Regions from separate parts of the Homo sapiens genome. Here region 2 is linked to region 1. The links are contacts of gene promoters, found by promoter capture Hi-C in human tissues and cell types (Jung and others, 2019). All regions are on one chromosome and are shown on one strand. Each heading gives the region's core, a stretch centred on a gene start or on the middle of the fragment in contact. The rest is flanking DNA. Distances are from core to core; before and after follow the strand shown.

Region 1 (3,148 bases), core at 419-2,918:
AAAGAAGCACAAGGCTGGGGGACCGCTGTCCCCGTTTAATCCATTACTGCGTCCGCGGCAGTTTAGTGCGCAATAAAACACGGTGGCAGGGGAGAGCGGGAGCCCATCCACTCCCCGGCACTAGCATCGAATTAAACCACTTAGTTTGGCAAACACTGAACGCCTAAATGCCCCTATAAAGACTTTATGAGTTTGTTACTTTAATTACTGACTTGTTACAGAGCACATAAAGGGGGTAATGAATGCAATAAAACTAATTATCTACACATTTAATTCATATAAAATATCCAGGGTTTGTTTACACCACACGGCGATTCAGCTAAGCTTTCCCCCTCTTGTCCACCGAGAGGAAGGATTTAATGAAATAGTTTCCCTTATTCTGCTAGGGCCTAACAAACCAAATGAAAATTACCCTCCGCTTAAATCATGGGGCCACTGAAGTCCACAAATCACTGCTCGCTCCTTTGTCTGTGCCTCGCTGCCAGCACCCAAAAGCCTGAGGAATCGGACAAGAAAGGTGCCCGACCTGGAGCCCTTGCCTGGGCATTTACATGGCAAGAATTTCCCTCACTACAGTCCGCAAACCTAAAAGGCAAACAGACACAATCCCCGGGTCTGTGGAGGATTGTGGGCACCTGAAAAAAAAAAAGAGGCGAGAAAGAGGGAGAGCGCCCGAAAGAGATGAAAGAGGAGATACATTTGGGTACACTTCATGCTCGCTTGCCAGTTATGGTGTAATTAAAACGAACAACCTCACAGAAACTCAAACCAACCAAGGCTTGCGCTAATGCAAACAGACAGAACTGAGAGCAAAGAACACAACGGTCGAGAATCCAGATGTTTCACATTCGAAAGCTTTCCTCAGATTTTTTTATTATTATTTTTAAGTGGCTGTATACCCTGAGTCTCTTGAAAGCACATTTAGCTGCAAGAAGAAATGCAATTTATAAGATGCTTTCTCTCTGTCTCTCTTTTTTTTAACCCCCTCTACCAGGTGTATTTTTAAAGAAATCCGCTTATCGTTCACATAAACCCCCTTGGCCCACTTACTCTATGTTACAGGGCGCCTGAGTCTTGCCAATGTCCCAGTCCTTTATAACATTTCATGCACTTCGGGGGGTAGGCTTGTTGTTAAATTGAGCGTGTAACACTCTTACAAAACAGGTTTTCTATGACATCAAGGTTTCTTCTCCCTAACCGAGGGGGAAAAAAAGAAGAGGACGAAGAAGGGGGAAAACACACACACTATCTCAATTTATGCCTAAGGTATATGATCAGTTAAAAAGGCTTAAAAGCTCGGGGAAATTGGATCAGGGAGAATCGTCACCCAACTTTCATTATTTCCAAGTAGTGTGATTGAATTAAAGGGCAGGGAGCTGGTTAGAAGGGAGGATCAGGGGCTCGGTGCGTAATGGTGTGGTATTAAATTCTAATTAGAGATGCAGGAATCAATGATAGGGAGGTTGGACAGCTCAGTTCCCCAGTGCCAGCCCAATAGACGGATGAGTTATTGTCATGTAAAAAGCGCCAGCAATAAGACCAACCGCTTTGCTATTGTCCAAGTGGAAAGAGCCAAGTTTATTATGAGGACTATATGCTCTAGAGACCTCAGACAAGGCATCTCATAGGAGGCTTTTTCATAAAACTAGGCTCTGCTGGTAGTAAGGAGGCCAGTTTGGAGGCAGGCGTTGAGCTGTGCACATCTCCCCACTCCAGCCACCTTCTCCATATCCATCTTTTATTTCATTTTTCCACTTGGCTGAGCCATCCAGAACCTTTTCAATGTATAAAATGGAATATTCTTACCTCAATTCCTCTGCCTACGAGTCCTGTATGGCTGGGATGGACACCTCGAGCCTGGCTTCAGCCTATGCTGACTTCAGTTCCTGCAGCCAGGCCAGTGGCTTCCAGTATAACCCGATAAGGACCACTTTTGGGGCCACGTCCGGCTGCCCTTCCCTCACGCCGGGATCCTGCAGCCTGGGCACCCTCAGGGACCACCAGAGCAGTCCGTACGCCGCAGGTAAGGACCTTCAGCTTTCTCAGCGGAGGAAGCCGCCTTTCCGCCCGTATATAGGAAGCCTTGATTGCATTTGAAAATGGAAATGTGTTTAGTATTTACCAAACGAAATTTGCTTACACAAATGAAAGAATTTATCACGTTAGAAGCGATTGCAGGGAGGGGTAATTCACTTACAGGGTTACACTATCCTAGTCACACCCGAACCGCCAACAAAATTATCTTAAGCTGCCAAAATGATAGGCATAATTTATTTACTTTGCGATGAGACGTAAAGCTTAGAAAATAATTAAATAACAAAGAGTAAAGCTCATTACTGGCAGTGTCTCTTTTTTTAAGAACCGACAGCGGCTCACACCTCTTTGGCTGGTCATTTTTATGATTATTTCTTTAATTTATTATTATTTTTTTGCAGCTCTTTCCCCCAACTTTTGAGCCGGGTCAACTTTCTGAGAATTGAAAAGTTCCCAAAGTGGGACTGTTTGGTAACTTCTTTCCTGGCTCCCTGATATTCCGACTGATGTTTTTGGATTTTTTTCCTCTCTGGTTTTTTCCTGCTGAAAGCACTATCTCAAGTCCGTCACATCGCGCTGTTTCAATCCACCCAAAGGCGCTTGTGCCAGAAAGGACTCCGCCAAGCCCGAAGTTTGAGCCCAGGTTTCCGCAGATAACAAATTTCCTCGGTTTCTTCCCGCAGCTTCTCTCGGCAACTCTCTCGCGCGGGTGTAGGTAGCGGCTGCCGTATGACCTGACCTTGGAGTCCTCACATTCTAGCTCCACGGCCGGCGAGCTGCCGGCTGATTTGCTCACTTTCTGTCTCCTCTGTCATACTCTAGTTCCTTACAAACTCTTCACGGACCACGGCGGCCTCAACGAGAAGCGCAAGCAGCGGCGCATCCGCACCACTTTCACCAGTGCCCAGCTCAAAGAGCTGGAAAGGGTCTTCGCGGAGACTCACTACCCCGACATCTACACTCGGGAGGAGCTGGCCCTGAAGATCGACCTCACAGAGGCGCGAGTCCAGGTACGCGCGCCTGGAAACCGACCCCGCTCCGCCGCACTGGTCCGGGGAGGTGTGGGGTGAGGGGCGGCTGGTGAAATTCGAAGTCCTGGAGCCTCGAGTGAGAA
Region 2 (3,090 bases), core at 29-2,528, 79 kb before region 1:
CAATAATGATAATTTGAGGGGTCTTCAACAACTTTATGAAAAATGCATATTATGAAAAAACTGTGCCTGGATTTCAAAATATTTTTGCACCAGAAAAATCCATACTCATTTGTTATGTCTGAACAGCATCTAGTTTGAGGCATTAAGAAGGATAAGACATCAGTTTAAAAAAATTCCTTATCAGAGCAACATGAATTCTGCTAAAATTGAAGCAAGAGCAAACATTAAATGTAAGGTGAAGCTTGGGTGGAAAAATGGTGAAATCACGAATGCTTCATAAAAAGTTTATGGGGACAATACACCAAAGATATCAGCCGTTTGAAATGGATAACTTAAAAAATATCCTCCAGATATGAAGGAGGATAACTTTTTTTTTTTTTTTTTTTTTTGAGACAGAGTTTTGCTCTTGTTGCCCAGGCTGGAGTGCAGTGGGGTGATCTCGGCTCACTGCAACCTCCACCTCCCAGGTTCAAGCGATTCTCCTGTCTCAGCCTCCCGAAGAGCTGGGATTACAGGCATGCACCACCACGCCCAGTTAATTTTGTATTTTTTTAGTAGAGATGGGGTTTCTCCATGTTGGTCAGGCTAGTCATGAACTCCCAACCTCAGGTGATCAGCTCGCCTCGGTCTCCAAAAGTGCTGGGATTACAGGCATGAGCCACCTCTCCTGGCCGAGGATAACTTTTTTTTTTTTTGAGACGGAGTCTCACACTGTTGCCTGGGCTGGAGTGCAATGGTGTGATCTCAGGTTACTGCAACCTTTGCCTCCCGGATTCAAGCGATTCTCCTCCCTCAGCCTCCCGAGTAGCTGGGATTACAGGCGCCTGCCACCACGCCCGGCTAATTATTTTATTTTTAGTAGAGATCTGGTTTCACTATGTTGGCAAGGCTGGTCTTGAACTCCTGACCTCATGATCCACCCTCCTCGGCCTCCCAAAGTGCTGGGATTACAGGAGTAAGCCACCATGCCCGGCCGATAACTTTTCTTAAGAAGGGATGAGATGATGTTGAAGATGAAGTCCCTCCCAGCAGACCAGCGACATCCATTTACAAGGAAAAAATTAATCTTGTTTGTGCCCTAATGGAAGAGGACTGATGATTAACAGCAGGAACAATAGCTAACACCATGGACATCTCAATTTGTTCAGCTTACACAATTCTGACTGAAATATTAAAGCTGAGTAAACTTCCCATTCAATGGTTGCCAAAACTAATGCACCCAGATCAGCTGCAGTCAAGAACAGAGCTTTCAATGAAAATTTTAAACAAGTGGGATCAAGATCCTGAAGCATTTCTTTGAAGAATTCTAACAGGAGATGAAACGTGGCCCTACCAGTAAGATACTGAAGACAAAGCACAATCAAAGCAATGGCTACCAAGAGGTGGAAGTGGTCCCATCAGGACAAAAGTGGACTGGTCAAGAGCAAAGGTCATGGCAAGAGTTTTTTGGGAGGCTCAAGGCATTTTGCTTGTTGGCTTTCCGGAGGGCCAAACAACAATTACATCTGCTTATTATGAGAGTGTTTTGAGGAAGTTAGCCAAAGCTTTAGCAGAAAAACACCTGGGAAAGCGTCACCGGAATCCTTCTCCACCATGTCAATCTCTTGCTCATTCCTCTCATCAAACAGAGGCAATTTTTTTGAGAGTTTTGATGGGAAATCATTAGGCATCCTACTTACAGTCCTGATTTGGCTCCTTCTGACTTCTTTTGGTTTCCTAATCTTAAAAAATCTTTAAAGGACACCCATTTTTCTTCAATTAGTAATGTAAAAAAGACTGTACTGACATGGTTAAATTCCCAGGACCCTCAGTTACTTAGGAATGGGCTAAGTAGCTGGTGTCTTGGCTTTGAAAAGTGTCTTGAACTTGATGAAGCTTTTGTTAAGAAAGAAAGTTTATATTTTTTATTTTGATCTTTTAATTACATTTTCCATGAACTATTTGAAGGTCCCTCCTAACAGCATAGTAACTTTGGGAGACAACTACCACTACTAAGGTTGAGGGAACACAGGAAAGAGGTTGGGGTTATAAGAACTTAGAAGCTTGGTGGCCTCGTGGAGCTGGGACTCTAACCCTGAGAACAGACACTCACCATCAAGTTAGTGTTGGTATCTTAAGAGTTCAGAGGAGCCCTGCAGAAGTGGACCTAGATCTCTGAAGACAGGGCATTCCCAGCTAGTGCTAGTACCTCTGAGCTAGTGTAATGAGCCCAGTTCTGGGATGGTGGGGAAAAAATCTGGAAACTGGAACCAATGGTTACTGAAACCCTCACTCCTGGTGGTCCCCTCATCATATGGTCATGCTGGCAGGAGCAGCAAGCAAGCAGCGAGGAGTAAGGCTCTTCCCATCTTCTTCCTTCACGGCTCCCTTTGGAGCCCCCTACTAGTACAACGGCAAAGCAGAAATGCAGTTTGCAGAGCCCTAGCCCTAGCAAACAAATTAGACATAGAAAGTGAGAAACAATAGATTAATAGGGAACCCAAAGACTGAGGATGTAAGTGGAGAGACAAGTTTAGAAAGTTTATTGCAGTAACTTGGGGAAGGTGATTGCTGTAGAGATAAGAGAGGGGAACAGATTCATGACACATTTGAAGTTTAATAGGGCTTTGTGCAGGAGATCACGGGAGGGTGGAGACCAGGGAACAAACTAACTGTATGATGGTGGCATTTACTGATGTGAGGAGCCCTGGAGGAGGAGCAAGTGGGTGGGTAAAGAGTTTTGTGGTCAGATTTGAGCTGATCTTGAAAGACAAAGATTGTTCACACAGGCAGAGGGCAGTGGGGAAGGCATTCCAAGATGGAGGCAAAATCAATCAAATAACAGATTTTTTAAAAAAACCCTGCAGGTTTGTTCAGGGGACAGTGGGTCCATCTGTTTGCCTGGGGAGAAGATGTGAGCAGGAAAGGAGGGAGAAACTACAATGTAACTACTTGAAATTGCAGCTCATTTAGCTGTGAGCCATTAGCATAGTGGGCCTTTAGGACTTGGAATTGACCATTACATATTTTGCTTTGAGATGTGTAAGTGTATGGCTATAACCAGGAGGAGAACAAAATTATATTTTGAGTTATTTCATCCAAAAAGTGTTT

The links. Contacts are between HindIII fragments. The study calls those that stand out against the background at their distance.
Region 2: a fragment that was not itself captured here is called in contact with the fragment with the promoter of PHOX2B in region 1 in 4 of the 25 tissues and cell types used here (H1 embryonic stem cells, heart left ventricle, mesenchymal stem cells and 1 more).

What each region holds. Positions count from the first base shown.
Region 1 is chr4:41,747,245-41,750,392 of GRCh38, reverse strand. PHOX2B (paired like homeobox 2B) reads left to right here and starts at 1,668. Exons shown (of 3, transcript NM_003924.4): 1 at 1,668-2,023; 2 at 2,857-3,044. The coding sequence starts at 1,783. PHOX2B-AS1 (PHOX2B antisense RNA 1) reads right to left here and starts at 2,044. Exons shown (of 4, transcript NR_187403.1): 1 at 1,807-2,044. The HindIII fragment of the contact is 4,691 bases long and covers 591-3,148 here.
Region 2 is chr4:41,825,805-41,828,894 of GRCh38, reverse strand. No RefSeq gene overlaps it. Among named protein-coding and RNA genes, the nearest start is that of LINC00682, 55 kb to the left of the region's middle. The HindIII fragment of the contact is 4,364 bases long and covers 1-3,090 here.